Regions from separate parts of the Homo sapiens genome. Here regions 2, 3 and 4 are each linked to region 1. Evidence: promoter capture Hi-C in 16 types of primary human blood cells and fetal thymus (Javierre and others, 2016). All regions are on one chromosome and are shown on one strand. The core of a region is centred on a gene start or on the middle of the fragment in contact, and the rest is flanking DNA. Distances in the headings are between cores, read along the strand shown. Region 1 holds the start of TSC22D1 (TSC22 domain family member 1). Region 2 holds the start of SPART (spartin). Region 3 holds the start of ALG5 (ALG5 dolichyl-phosphate beta-glucosyltransferase). Region 4 holds the start of SUPT20H (SPT20 homolog, SAGA complex component).

Region 1 (3,620 bases), core at 706-3,205:
GAGGTCAGTCGATTACAGGGCCGGCCTGCTTCTGTCCTCCAGTTAAGGATGGATTGCAACCACTCCTCGTTAGAGAAGAGCCTAGCCCAGAGGAGCTCAGGCAGTTAACTGGAAACAGCTGCAACATCTGCCCGGCCGCCTCGCCCCTGCCCGTGGAAGGGCGAGGGGACCGCATGGCAGCAACTGCACTGCACAAAAGACAACACCTATCACCGGGAGCCACCGGCCTTCCATAGACCCCACAGCTCCCGGCCCTAGGGCATCCCCCGAGGAGGCAAGGGCCGGGGGCGAGCCCAGGTGCGGCGAGGGGGAGGAGGTTTCCGCCACGCGCCAGGGAAGAAAGCCTGACTCATGTCGTGGCAGCGGCAGCAGCCGCGGCGGCGGGCTCCTGGGAACTGAAACTCGTGATGCTGTTGCTGCGGAGAAAAGCCTCATTACCCATTCCGCAGGCGGGGGACACCACCCAAGGCGCGCACACCAAGCGCCGGCGCTCCCGCCGCCTCCGCCGGCCCTTCCGCGCCGCGCCCCCTCCTCTGCCGCGTGCCCGCGCGCGCCGGCCGCGAGTGTGAAAAGAGCGGACACACCTAACCTGGGCGCGCGGCAGGCGCGCACCCTGCCCGCCCCCACCGGGCCGAATCACGCAGTCCGACCCGGATTCGCTCCTTCGGCCGGAATTCCCCACCCCCACTATCCCCTCCGGCTCCACCACTCCCGGCTTCGGCGCCTCTGCCAGCCTTCGGTAATTTCCGTCGGGAGACCTGGCGCTCGCCTAGGCCCGAAGACCCGCCGCCTCCTGCCCCGCCAGACCCGGCTTTATGTCTGCGGCGCCGAGGCGCATGCGCAGACGCCATCTTCCCTCCTCCTCCTCCGCCTGCCCCCTCCCCCCAGCCACCACCGCCTCCTCTCGCCGGCGGTCGCCCCTCCTCCTCCTGCGCTCCGCGCTGGTCCCTCCCCTCCCGATGCCGCGAGAGACTGGGGGATACGGTGGAGCCGGGGGAGCCGAAGAAGAGCACTAGTAACAACCACCACAGCCCCCTCCCCGCCCGACACCCTCCCTCGGCACCCACTCACTCCCCCGCCCCGTTTGCCGACACCGACCAACCCCACCTCGTTCCTTTGAACGGCGTCGGCTGCAGTCGCTGCACCAGCCCGTCTGGCCACCAACGCCGCGGAGAAAGGAGCCGCCGCCGCCTGCGGCCCTCTCCCGCCCGGTCGCGGGAGCAGCGGGGTGAGGAAGAGCCGGCTGCGGAGGAAGAGGATAAGAGAGGGTCGCACCCTCCGCCCTAGCGCACGTCCCGCCGCCCTCCGGAGAGGCTCGGGTGCCGGCCCCTTCCTCCCCGAGGACGTGTGCCGAGTCGAGGCGCCTGCCCTGAGGGAGGAAAATGCTCGGGCTCCATGGCTGCCAGTGATGGAGCGGTCCCTGGGCTCCCGCTGCCACCGCCGCCGCCGCGCCCCGGCCGTGCTCCGCGAGGACCCGGCGTCTCTGCGCGCCCGCCCGCGCCTCGTTGCTGGGCTCACCGTACCGGGCGCCTCGCCGCCGCCCCGCTCGCAGCCGCGTCGCCCCGGCCCCAGCCGCGGCCAGCGTTTCCTCACCGAGCAGCCGCCGCGAGCCCAGGGGGTTTGAAAGGGTCTGCGGGGCGCGGGGGGAGGGCCGAGCGGGGCCGGGAGGGGAGGTTTGAGCGACACTGAGCTCGGGGCTCGCTGGCGGCGGCGGCGGCCCCGGGGGTGGCGAGGGGAAGGCGACATTTGCTTGGCGCTGCCTCCGTGCAGAGCGGCCGGGAGGGCTTTGCAGCGGCCGCCGACGCGGCGGGAGGAGGGGGCTGAGGCGGCTTCGGAGTTGGCCGGAGAAGGTGGGCATTTCTCGCTTTTCCTCCCCTTCCTGCGCTCTCCCCCTCCCTCCTGCCCCGCACCCCACGTGAAGCAGAATATAAAGGGGGGTGTGAGGCTAGAGGGGAAAGTGAATGGCGAAGGACTGAAGGGATCCCCCCTTCGGGTCCCCGGCCGCCCTGTTCACCCTCGTTCATCCTCCTTTCCGAAGCTCGCTCTCGAAGGCAGGAGCGACCGGCGCCTTTGGCTGAGGAGGAGGAGAAGGAGGAATCGCGCCAGGCGGAGCGTCAGGTCCCGTTTTCCTCTCCGGCGTCTCCAATACAAAGATTACGGTGCAGAAGGAAATTGCACTCGTCTCCTCCGCGCCCCCGGTACCCAACACAATGCACCAGCCGCCTGAGTCCACCGCCGCGGCCGCCGCCGCTGCAGACATTAGCGCTAGGAAGATGGCGCACCCGGCAATGTTCCCTCGAAGGGGCAGCGGTAGTGGCAGCGCCTCTGCTCTCAATGCAGCAGGTACCGGCGTCGGTAGTAATGCCACATCTTCCGAGGATTTTCCGCCTCCGTCGCTGCTTCAGCCGCCGCCCCCTGCAGCATCTTCTACGTCGGGACCACAGCCTCCGCCTCCACAAAGCCTGAACCTCCTTTCGCAGGCTCAGCTGCAGGCACAGCCTCTTGCGCCAGGCGGAACTCAAATGAAAAAGAAAAGTGGCTTCCAGATAACTAGCGTTACTCCTGCTCAGATCTCCGCTAGTATCAGCTCTAACAACAGTATAGCAGAGGACACTGAGAGCTATGATGATCTGGATGAATCTCACACGGAAGATCTCTCTTCTTCGGAGATCCTTGATGTGTCACTTTCCAGGGCTACTGACTTAGGGGAGCCCGAACGCAGCTCCTCAGAAGAGACCCTAAATAACTTCCAGGAAGCCGAGACACCTGGGGCAGTCTCTCCCAACCAGCCCCACCTTCCTCAGCCTCATTTGCCTCACCTTCCACAACAGAATGTTGTGATCAATGGGAATGCTCATCCACACCACCTCCATCACCACCATCAGATTCATCATGGGCACCACCTCCAACATGGTCACCACCATCCATCTCATGTTGCTGTGGCCAGTGCATCCATTACTGGTGGGCCACCCTCAAGCCCAGTATCTAGAAAACTCTCTACAACTGGAAGCTCTGACAGTATCACACCAGTTGCACCAACTTCTGCTGTATCATCCAGTGGTTCACCTGCATCTGTAATGACTAATATGCGTGCTCCAAGTACTACAGGTGGAATAGGTATAAATTCTGTTACTGGCACTAGTACAGTAAATAATGTTAACATTACTGCTGTGGGTAGTTTTAATCCTAATGTGACAAGCAGCATGCTTGGTAATGTTAATATAAGTACAAGCAATATTCCTAGTGCTGCTGGTGTGAGTGTTGGGCCTGGAGTTACCAGTGGTGTTAATGTGAATATCTTGAGTGGCATGGGCAATGGTACTATTTCTTCCTCTGCTGCTGTTAGCAGTGTTCCTAATGCAGCTGCAGGGATGACTGGGGGATCGGTTTCAAGTCAGCAGCAACAACCAACAGTTAACACTTCGAGGTTCAGAGTTGTGAAGTTAGATTCTAGTTCTGAGCCCTTTAAAAAAGGTAGATGGACTTGCACTGAGTTCTATGAAAAAGAAAATGCTGTACCTGCTACAGAAGGTGTGCTGATAAATAAAGTGGTGGAGACTGTAAAGCAAAATCCGATAGAAGTGACTTCTGAAAGGGAGAGCACTAGTGGGAGTTCAGTG
Region 2 (3,620 bases), core at 507-3,006, 8.2 Mb after region 1:
CATGCCCAGCTAATTTTTGTGTTTTTTTGTAGGGACGGGTTTCGTCATGTTGCCCAGGCTGGTCTCGAACTCCTGGGCTCAAGCGATTCTCTTGCCTCGGCCTCTGGAGTAGCTGGGACTACAGGCATAAGCCACCAAGCCTGGCCAATATTTGCAAGACTAAAGAAATATTGACATACAATTTCACAATATGGAACGGAAATATGAGTTCAAGAAGAAAAGAAATGATGTAAAATTTCCTTCTGTTAAAAGCTTGTTCATGTAGTTTTAAAAATTGATGATTTTAGATATTAAATTGGTATTTAGATTCCACTGGCTACATTTAAAAGTTATATAACTTTTATTTTAAAATGTTAATTTATAATAAAACAGAAGTTGCTTCTTTTGTAACTATTTAAGTCAGATGAGAAATTGTGATGGTCAATCCAAAAACGTGGAAGTGAGAATACAGTCATAGTCTTTGGGGACTCCTTTGGGGGTATAAGAGCAAAATCATTTTGAAACCACTGTATTAATATATTCCTAATAGGTTTTGCTTTTTGGGATGACTGACTGCTACCTTTCTGAGATTTGAGGGAGTCACTTAACTGGTCCTAAGGCCAGGCGCGGTGACTCACGCCTGTAATCCCAGCACTTTGGGAAACTGAGGCAGGTGGATCGCTTGAGGTCAGGAATTCGAGACCAGCCTGGCTAACTTGAGGTCAAGCTTTCAAGACCAGCTTGGCCAATATGGTGAAACCCCGTCTCTACTAAAAATACAAAAATTAGACGGGAGTGGTGGTGCACAGCTGTAATTCCAGCTTCTCTGGAGGCTGAGGCATGAGAGTCGCTTGAACCTGGGAAGCAGAGGTTGCAGTGAGCCGAGATCATGCCACTGCACTCCAGCCTGGGCAACATAGTAAGACTCTGTCTCAAAACAAAACAAAAACACAACAACAACAAAACTGGTTCTAAATGCTCCGGGCAAGTACATACTGCTTTTTCTTTTTTCTGTTTTTTTTTCCCTAAGGCAGCCCTATTGAAGAGTCTGTCATCTACAATATTTTACTAATTTAAAAACACTTGTCAAGAAGGGTAAAGTATGTTCATCTTGATTTTACTCTTTGTATCCCGGAATCAGGAACTAACAGTTTTATGATAGTGATATAGACTTTACACACACACCAAGACTTAAAACACGTGGTGCAGGCGGGCTTTTGGAAATTAACTGTGCTCTGGATACAGAAGTCACAAAGCTCAGGCTGCAGAGACATTGAGGGGATAATCAGCCTTTATTGTCTCTCGTGCACTGTGCCCAGCGCTCCCTCTAGCGGCTACAAGCGCTCACTGCCCACACTCTCTACTAGGCTCTCCGGAGGCCTCGGTTTCGCTGGAGAGAAAGAGATTGCGCAGGCGCCGAGCAGCCGACGTGGCCGCAGGGGACCGTGCCTGGGGGGGTCTGCGCGGGGCCGCTGACTCGCGAGGTTCTCTGTCGCCTGCCGCCCTCGCTCCTTTTCTCCCCTTCTAGAGTGTTACGGTGACTCTTGGGTCCGAAGGGGACGGACGTCCTCCCACGTACCATTTAGAAGGTCAGAGTGGGCAGAACCTAGTCTGAGCAGGCCGGTGATGAATCCGCTGGCAAGACGCGCGCGTGGGTACTCACGTGACCTAGGCTGCGGCGGCGGCGTGCTGCGGGCTCTGTGGCGGGAGCGAGGCCGACGGGCGGGGCCGCGCGGCCGCGTGACGCGAAGCGTTCGAGAGCGCGCGTCGTGGAACGTCTTGGTTGCCACGGCAAGCGCGCGCGCGAGGCCTTGGGAACCTCGGGACCGGCCCCCGGCGAGCGCAGCGGCGCCCAGTGTAAGGGAGTGGGAGCTGGTCCGTGCCGCGGCGGCCGCGCAGGGAGCTCTCGAGGCAACGCCGGGGCGCCCGAGGTCTGGAAGGCGCAGGTGGGGCGCGGGGGAGTTCACCCCTGCGCGGTCCCTTGGGTGGGCGGGGTGGGCGCCCCAGGCCCCGCGGACTCGGCTGGGAGGCTGAGCGGGCGACGGTCACGGGACAAGGGTGGAGGGGGTGGGGACCTCATCCGAGTCTCAGAGATGGAATTTTCGAGGAAGGGAGCGATTTCGAGAGAGAATAGTTTGAGAAGTTGTTCTCAGTCCCTTCTCTCGCGGGAGTGTGGTATTTAGGGAAGCTTCGGCCTCTTAACCCATGGACTGTTAGGATGGAGGGAATCCTTCCCGCTCGATTCCTATCGCGGAGTCCTTTCGGAGCATCGCTATTGATCATTCTCGCCGCCCCAACCCCGTTGTTTACTTTGGCTTCGCAGATCTCTGTGGTCTTTTGCCCTCCCGCAGCGCCCATGGCCCCGTCAAGGTTGGGCAGCCTTTCTCTGCAAGAAGGCCCACGAACAACTGCGGTTATATTGGGATGGATTGCGCGTGATTTTACTCTTTACAATACATTCTTTCATGCTTCCTAGGGATTGAGCTGCGCGGCGGATCCCTCCGACTTAATTCTGGGCCTGAGAAAAGTTTCTCTTGGAATGCGCAGTTTCGTGACGCAGCATTATTGCGTGACTCTAGGGCTGACCCAGTTTTTCACTTTCTAATTGTAAGGAAGTGCGCTAGTAGTCCACCGAGGATCCTCGAGGTTGGCCTTATTGTATCATAATTTAACGAATTTGCGTTCCAGGTTGTTACAGCCTTTGAAATAATGGCCTCATATTTAAGAATGTAGCAATTTTTCTTTGAAATTTCCGAAAGTGGGGAAAAAAGTAATAGAAGACTGCACCTATATGGAATTATTTTCTGATTCGCAGTTCTTTATAATCGTAGACTTAATTTGGTGGCTTTATTGGACCTGTTTGAAACAGGAAGCCTTTCTGTAATGTGGTTTCGGGTCGGCTTCACCTCTGGCACTCTCTGAAACGTCGTTGTCTATGGTTTCCCTAAGAAGCTAGAATGAGCGGGATGCTACGGAGGGAGGTGTATACAGGTGTTAGACAAAGCCCCCTCCGCTTTTTTGGTAAAGGGCCAAATAGGCATTAGATCAACTTGTGCTAGCTCTAAGGAGTTAAATGCGGTATTATTAAAGACTGCTTGTAATGTTGACTGTTAAGTGAGAGTGTTACTTCTTTCAGTGTTTATGGAATCGAACTAAATTGCTAGGTATTTTAATGCAGAATTTTACCTTTTCTCGGGTATTTTTTAAGACATACACAGACATACATGTAGTTATGTTGAAATAAATGTGTTTTATTAGAACGTTAAAAAATTAGAATTTAGGTGAACTACTGGTATCGGAACAGATTTTGGTTTGTTGTTGAAGACTGTACACTGGTGTAGGTACTGTTTAATACATCAGATTGTCATTTCAAAGACTTTGTCTTCTTAACTTTGAAAATTAAATAATGTGAAATAATGTGATAATGGTTTTTATCTTTTCAGGACACTTGATTGACACTTAATTGTGCTTAGGAATAGAATAGGCTTTTTTTTAAGTCACCATCCTCCAATCCTTATTTCTGTAAAATGTATTTTCTGAGACCGCTGAGGATATAGCAAATCCCAGTCACAAAATAAAAATGTGATATTTTAATATAAACCTTTTTCTTTCTGTGTTGAGATTCCCCAGAGATTAGACTG
Region 3 (3,620 bases), core at 13-2,512, 7.6 Mb after region 1:
CGAATCTGCTGTTAAAGAAGGAGCGGGTCTCCCTCTTTATAAAAGAGCTGGTGCTGTGACTCAGAATAACACCAACAGTTCGGAGATAACAGGGTTTCTAGCGCAGAATCAAGCAGTGCGTGTGGAGCGTTATTCCAATGTTTCTGCGTCTTTTTTCTGCCTGTGACTTAGGCTCAGCCCTGGCCTTGCCTCTTCACTGGTCAAGGGCTCCGTGCTCCAACACATGAGAAACCTGAACTTTTTTTTTTTTTTTTTTTGAGACAGAGTCTCGCTCTGTCGTCCAGGCTGGAGTGCAGTGGCGCGATCTCGGCTCACTGCAAGCTCCGCCTCCCGGGTTCACGCCATTCTCCTGCCTCAGCCTCCCGAGTAGCTGGAACTACAGACGCCCGCCACCGCGCCCCGCTAATTTTTTGTATTTTTAGTACAGACGGGGTTTCACCGTGTTAGCCAGGATGGTCTCGATCTCCTGACCTTGTGATCCGCCCGCCTCGTCCTCCCAAAGTGCTGGGATTACAGGCGTGAGCCACGGCGCTCGGCCGAGAAACCTGAACTTTCTGTGCGCTCATTGTCCGCACCACGTTCTGCTCTGCAGGTCCCGGAGCTGAGGGCTCCTAAGCATCACCTTGTGTTGTAGACTGTGTCGTGCTCAAGGCTGCCATCTCCCTCCTAGGTGGGGTTACCAGATAAAATACAGGATACCACGTTAAATTTGAATGTCTGATAAACACAGCGTGGTTTTTTTGTTTTTTGTTTTTGTTTTTTTGTGGGTTTTTTTTTTTTTAAAGCATGAGTATGCCCCAAATAGAGCATGCAATTAGTTGTTGCCAGAACCTGGAGGGAGCTGGGAAGGCTTTACAGATAGATAGTGGTGATGGTTGCACAGTATGTATGTAATTAATGCCACTCACTATTGTAAACTTAAAATGATTAAAATGGCAACTTTTTATTTTACCACAGTTTATAAAAACTAATGTAATAAACCAGAAACCTGTAACTGGATGAGTCGTATGGTATGTGGCTATCTTAATAAGGCTGTTAAAAACATGATTAGTTTTTTAATCTGAAATTCAAATTAAGTAGACGTCTTGCATACTTGATAAACCTGGCGCCCCGCTGTGGAACCTAGCGCTCCTCTCCACCGACTGGGCGCCGAGGGCACGAGAGCGGCGTTTTCTCCGCCTCGCCACGCGGGGGCGCTGCGGCCAGCGGGCGCGACCTCTCTGGCGGCGGGGCCGGGTCGCGCGGGCGCGCTTCCGCCTGTGTGGAGGTGCGGGATTGGGCGGGCTGCCACGGCATGGAGAATGGCTCCGCTTCTGTTGCAGCTGGCGGTGCTCGGCGCGGCGCTGGCGGCCGCAGCCCTCGTACTGGTGAGAACAGGGATGGGAACCCGCGCAGGCCGGGGCTTACCGCTCTCCTGGAGACTGCGGCTCCTCAGGCGTCCCCTCCTCCGCGCTACCAGTTCTCGGAGAAGTCCCTTTTCCCCTAGATTCCCCCAAATTCCTGACCTCGGAGTTTCCTGGAGTTTCACTCTCCTTTTCTTCGGTTCTTTAATTTTCCCTTGGAATCTTATCTCTTTGTGTGCTCAGAGACTTGTAAGTTTTTTCACACTGGAGCGCACCCACCCGGCCTGGCATCATCGCCGCTTCCATCGCCCCTGGCGCCCGCGCCCCCTACCCACCTCCTCTGTCAACCTCGACCTCTCCCAGACTCTCCGGGACCTGCAGCCGCTGCAGTTCTGCTCCACCCAGGGAGGTCTCGAGCCCCCAGAAGGGGTGTGCTCCCTAGCCTGCTCCCTTGGCTGATGTGGTTAAGCAAATAGGGGTGACGGAGCCTTGACGGCAGCCATCTGTTACAAATGGGAATAAATGCGTGGATCGATGAGACCCACTAGGGACGCAGGGTGAGCGAGAGAGACAGGCCTCAGGCGCCTTGTCCGGGGTCGCATTGTGTCCCAGAATTAAGCACCCTAAATATACTGCCCCTAAACAAGGCAGGACGATAGAATGCAAACTCGATTGTCTTTGCCCTTGCTCTCGAAACACAAAAACATTGTAAACACTTGCTGATTGTTAAGTGGTAGAAAATTGGCGAACTCTCTCCCGCACACCTTGGAATGAGCCTGCCCTCTAGTTAGTAAGTGGAGAGGATTTCAGCTTCCTTGACATTCAGATTAGCCACCTAGACAGCACTGCCAGGAAGGCCACTCTGCCATCTTTCCAGAGGTTGTATAAATTTACAGTTTAGATAAAATGTAATGCATCCTTACTTCTTTGTTGATAGTATCTGGGTGAGAGAGGAGTCCTCTCTTGCCCTAACTAGTAGAGATTTCAGGGTTTAGGGCTTTTTTGTTTTTTCAAGTTTTTGAGCAAACCAGGATTGATTGATTGATTGATTGATTTTTGGCGGGGTGCGGGCGGGGAGTGGATTCACACATTCTTAGATTGAAGCTGCCTTACTTTGGGTCTTTTGCACAGATTTTATGGGATTGTACTGACGGTATTTGTTCCCACTAGCTTGAAGTGATAAGAGCTACCATTTATTGATTGTAGTACTTACTATATGTTGTGTTGCACTTGGTTTAATAGGAGTTATTAAATCTTTAACACTGTGACATATATGTTATCATTAGCATTATTTTACTGGTGAGGAAACATGTTGGAGAAATGAGCTCGTGTACTCAAATGTTGCACAACTAGTGAAACTTAGGTTTTTTAAATGCCAGAGCAAGAAATCATTAAAAAAATAATTTTTCAAAACCTCATCCTGTCTTCATATGTATCCACTCTCCATTACTCACAGTCTCACCTCCTTTCTGAATTATTTTAAAACAACTCGAAGACATTTTATCTTTAAATCCTCAGCATTTATTTCTAACAGATAAGGTCCTTCTTTTTAAAATACCACAATAAAGTGGTCACAGATTTAAATTTATTCTGTGATTTCAAATGCCCCCTCAGTTCACTTGCCCTCACTTGTCTCATATATGTCTCAGTATATATGTCTGTTTGTTCCAATCAGGATCCAAACAAGTGCCACACATTGTACTCTGTTGATGTCTTGAGTCTCTTAATCAGTTGACAGTTTCTCCTCCCCCTTTTTTTCTTTTCCTTGTCTTTTTTTTTTTTTTTTTTTTTTGAGACGGAGTCTGGCTCTTGTCACCCAGGCTGGAGTGCAGTGGTGTGATCTTGGCTCACTGCAACCTCTGCCCTCAAGCAATTCTCCTGCCTCAGCCTCCTGAGTAGCTGGGATTACAGGCGCCTACCACCACTCCCGGTTAATTTTTGTACTTTTAATAGAGATGGGGTTTCGCCATGTTGGCCAGGCTGGTCTCGAACTCCTGAACTCAGGTGATCCACCCTCCTCGGCCTCCCAAACTTCTGGGATTACAGACATGAGCCACCGCGCCCGGCCTTTTTCCTTGTCTTTAATATGATCATTTGTCCTGTAGAACTTCTCACAATTTGGATTTCTTTGATTGCATCCCCTTAATGCCTTTTAACATCTTCTATCTCAAATTTTCTATAAACTGGTAGTTAGGATGGAGAGACCTGATCACATACATACTCGATGTGTTTTTTAATCAAGAAAAAATTGTGAGTGATGCTTCTTCCTTTCTCTTG
Region 4 (3,620 bases), core at 363-2,862, 7.5 Mb after region 1:
TAACAACAAAAACACAAACAACTCAATTTAAAAATGGGGAAATACCTGAATAGAGAGTTCTCCAAAGAAGATATACAAATGGCTAACAAGGGCATGAAAAGATGCTCAAGATAACTAGCCATTAGGGAATGCAAATCAAACCCACAATAAAATACCACTTTATACCCTTTGGGATGGTTACTATCAAAGGAATAGAAAATTATGGTGTTAGTGAGGATGTGGAGAAATTGGAATCCCCCGACAATGCTCTTGGTATGTAAAATGAATGGTTCAGCTGCTGTAGAAACATTTGTTTATGGGTTCCTCAAATATTTTCACGTAGAATTACTATAAGACCCAGAAGTTCCACTATGTTTATACCCAAAAGAATTGAAAACAGGGACTCGAACAAATACTTGTATACAAATGTTCATATCATTGCTATTCACAATAGCCCGAAAGTGGAAACAACCCAAATGTCCATCAGTGGATGGACAGGTAAAACTGTGGCATCTAGGTACAGTGGAATAGTAGCCATAAAGAGACATGAAGTACCGATACATGCAACAAGGTGTACAAGGTGAACCTGCAAAAGATTATGCTACGAAGACAGACCAAAAGGTCACACATTCCATTTATATGAAATATCCGTAATAGGTACCACAGTTTGAAAGCTGATTGGCATTTGCCAGGGGCTGAGAGAGGGAGGAATGGGAGTAACCACTTAATGTGTTCGGATTTTATTTTGGAGTGTACTTTAATACACTTATAATGTGTGCAACCACTAACTCTAATTCCAAGACACTTTCATTCATTATGACCCTTGGCATTGTGAACGGCAAATAATAAATGCTCATTAAAAAGATTCACCCCAGGCCGTGCATGATGGCTCACGCCTGTAATCCCAGCACTTTGGGAGGCCAAGGCGGGTGGATCACTTGAGATGAGGAGTTCAAGAGCAGCCTGCCCAACATAGTGAAACAGTCTCTACTAAAAATACAAAAATTAGCCGGGTGTGGTGGTGCACGCCTATAATCCCAGCTACTCCGGAGACTGAGGCAGGGAGAATCGCTTGAACCCAGGAGGCAAAGGTTGCAGTTAGCTGAGATTTCTCCACTCCACTCCAGCCTGGGCGACAGAGCGAGACTCTGTCTGAAAAACAAACGAACAAACAAAACAAAACAGACCTTACAATGTGTGCTAGTAATGCGGTTTCTGAATTTTTAGAACCCTTCTCTGGGGTGGTTTTTTTAAAAACATAAACTCATTGGCAGTTGATATACTACAGAAGGTTGTACGCATTGGACTAGTAAATGTAGGTAACGGTGTCGCTGTTTTTCCATTTGTATGTGCTAAGCAAAGAGAAAAGCTAGTTCTATGTTTCTTCCACTCTAGAAATTCAACAGGGTCGTTTTTCCCCAAATTCACATCTACACCCTCCCTCCCACTTTGCGGACTCGGACTCCAGGATTGAGCAGAGATCCTGGGCCCCGCCTCCCGCCCGGACGCAAGTCTCTGCGGGCCTCACCGGCGTCCTGCGCGGAACGCAGCGCTCCAGGCTCCTGGCAGCGGCCCCGCCCTCCCGGCTCCTCCCCTTCCGCCCGCCTTCCCCGCCCCTCGGCCCAGCCTGCCAATCGGAAGTGCGGCCGCCGGAACTGGCTGTTGGTGGGGGTGCAGCACTGAGCCGCCGACGGGGCGGGTGGGCTTTGCTGCCGAGCAGGCGGCGCCGTCTTGGGGCCTAGCGGCGAGGCGACCCGCACAGGTGGGCGGTGGCGGTAGGTGGGTGGCCAGCGACTGGCAACGCGGTGGCTTAGACGCGCGAGATCCGGCCAGGGTCAGAGGTGAGCGGGCCGCATCCCAGAGCCCGCTGGAGGAAGACGGGGTCCCCAGAGACCCGGCAGGCCGGGGCGGAGGTTGAGGCAGCTAAACTCCAGGTGGACGCCTACATCGCCTTTCGCGGTGTTGCTAAGCCGAACTTTTAATTTTAGTTTGACTTTTGGGTTCCAGAGACGGGTATTTCCGGACACTGGCAAGAATTTTGCCTTGCGTGTCTTCGAAGGCGGTTTTCTTGGTGTCCATATTGCATAAAGGCTTGTCGCTCCTCTGTGGAGATGACGGTTGTACAGGTAAAGCCTAAGTTGTGACAAAAGCTCCTGCAATGGGAAGACTCTGGTCGATCAGGGAAATCAGTAGAATTGATAGCAACGCGTAGAATTGATAGCAACGCTTAGAATTGGATTAATTACTGGCCATGGTTACCCGGCGCTCAGAAATGAACTTGGAGAACAGTTGCCCTGGAAGCCATCTCCCGTAGCCACTGCGTAGTGGGGGCCGCGTCTTCTTGAGTGCAATTCATCAAAGTCTCTAGTAGGACTCAAAATATAAAGTGACGAGCAGGATTTTCGGAGTCGAGTACAGTGTACTTGGGTTGATCACCATGTTATAAAGTTAGATCCAAATTAAGAAATACATATTCGTCTCTGAGCAGAATTGGGTCCTTTTTTTAATTGCTTTGCTTTTTTTAAAGAAATGTAAAAACAGATGCCGGTTTGATTAGTTTGCAGGTTGTAATATTGGAAGGGACCTAAGATTGGACACAGAGTTCTGAATTCTGATCTAGGTCTGTGATGTTAGGAAAGTCAGTTGTTCTGATTGCCTTATTCTGTAAAACGGAAATGATAATGATTACAGTTTCCTCACAGGTTCTAGTAAATTCTGTGTATAGACAGAATGTTTGCTTTGTGAGAGATATGAAGTTATTAGTTTTTGTCTGAAGTACTTAAATAATTTAAAGTTAGTAAGCCCCCATCCCCAATTTAGTGACAAGAAATCTTAAAGTCATCACATTTTGTCCGAAAAGTACATAGTGTATCTTCATCTTCAAATTCAGTGGTCAGAAAATTTTCACGTTCACCTAAATTCAACTTAAACCTCCTACGAGCTTTTCAAGGGTAGGAGTAATATCTTACTCATTGTAAATGATCGTAAATCATTTACAGTTGTATGGTGCTTGTGTTTGTGTTGTATTAGGAGGTTAGTCCATTTTTTAAAGTTTCAGACGGAGTTTCACTCTTGTTGTCCAGGCTGGAGTGCAATGGGGCGATCCTGGCTCACTGCAACCTCTGCCTCCCAGTTCAAGCCATTCTCCTGCCTCAGCCTCCGGAGTAGCTGGGATTACAGGTGTGTGCCAACACACCCGGCTAATTTTTAATTTTTTTAGTAGAGACTGGGTTTCACCATTGTTGGTCAGGCTGGTCTCGAATTCCTGACCTCAAGTGACCCACCCGCTTCTGCCTCTTACAGGCCTGAGCCACCGCCCCAGCCAACTTTTTTTTTTTTTTTTTTTTGAGACGGAGTCTCTCTATGTCGTCCAGGCTGCAGTGCAGTGGCGCGATCTTCGCTCACTGCAGCCTCCACCTCCCAGGTTCAAGTGATTCTCTTGCCTCAGCCTCCTGAGTAGCTGGGATTTCAGGTGTACGCCACCACACCCGGCTGATTTTTGTGTTTTTAGTAGAGACGGGGTTTCGCCATGTTGTCCAGGCTGGTCTCGAACTCCAGGGCTGAAGCAATCCACCTGCCTTGGCCTCCCAAAGTGCTGGGATTATAGGTGTGAGCCACTGCACCCGGCCTTCTGTATTTTT

What was found. Contacts are between HindIII fragments. The CHiCAGO score rates a contact against its expected background, and 5 or more counts as called.
Region 2: a contact is called between the fragment with the promoter of SPART here and the fragment with the promoter of TSC22D1 in region 1, in 2 of 17 cell types (naive B cells and activated CD4 T cells). The highest score is 10.5, in naive B cells.
Region 3: a contact is called between the fragment with the promoter of ALG5 here and the fragment with the promoter of TSC22D1 in region 1, in 2 of 17 cell types (total CD4 T cells and total CD8 T cells). The highest score is 5.5, in total CD4 T cells.
Region 4: a contact is called between the fragment with the promoter of SUPT20H here and the fragment with the promoter of TSC22D1 in region 1, in 1 of 17 cell types (total CD8 T cells). The highest score is 5.2, in total CD8 T cells.

What each region holds. Positions count from the first base shown.
Region 1 is chr13:44,574,665-44,578,284 of GRCh38, reverse strand. It overlaps TSC22D1 (TSC22 domain family member 1), which reads left to right and starts at 1,955. Exons shown (of 3, transcript NM_183422.4): 1 at 1,955-3,620. The coding sequence starts at 2,211. It overlaps TSC22D1-AS1 (TSC22D1 antisense RNA 1), which reads right to left and starts at 2,389. Exons shown (of 3, transcript NR_038381.1): 1 at 2,015-2,389; 2 at 1,108-1,243; 3 at 1-183. RefSeq lists silencers at 263-312, 493-692, 963-1,202, 1,213-1,922 and an enhancer at 2,243-2,482. The HindIII fragment of the contact is 6,017 bases long and covers 1-3,620 here.
Region 2 is chr13:36,344,530-36,348,149 of GRCh38, reverse strand. SPART (spartin) reads left to right here and starts at 1,756. Exons shown (of 9, transcript NM_015087.5): 1 at 1,756-1,925. It overlaps SPART-AS1 (SPART antisense RNA 1), which reads right to left and starts at 1,719. Exons shown (of 5, transcript NR_045181.1): 1 at 1,643-1,719. RefSeq lists a silencer at 1,858-1,907. The HindIII fragment of the contact is 1,461 bases long and covers 709-2,169 here.
Region 3 is chr13:36,996,982-37,000,601 of GRCh38, reverse strand. It overlaps ALG5 (ALG5 dolichyl-phosphate beta-glucosyltransferase), which reads left to right and starts at 1,262. Exons shown (of 10, transcript NM_013338.5): 1 at 1,262-1,367. The coding sequence starts at 1,302. RefSeq lists enhancers at 1-76, 537-586 and a silencer at 1,047-1,346. The HindIII fragment of the contact is 11,758 bases long and covers 1-3,620 here.
Region 4 is chr13:37,057,680-37,061,299 of GRCh38, reverse strand. SUPT20H (SPT20 homolog, SAGA complex component) reads left to right here and starts at 1,612. Exons shown (of 26, transcript NM_001014286.3): 1 at 1,612-1,741. RefSeq lists a silencer at 1,441-1,700. The HindIII fragment of the contact is 8,647 bases long and covers 1-3,620 here.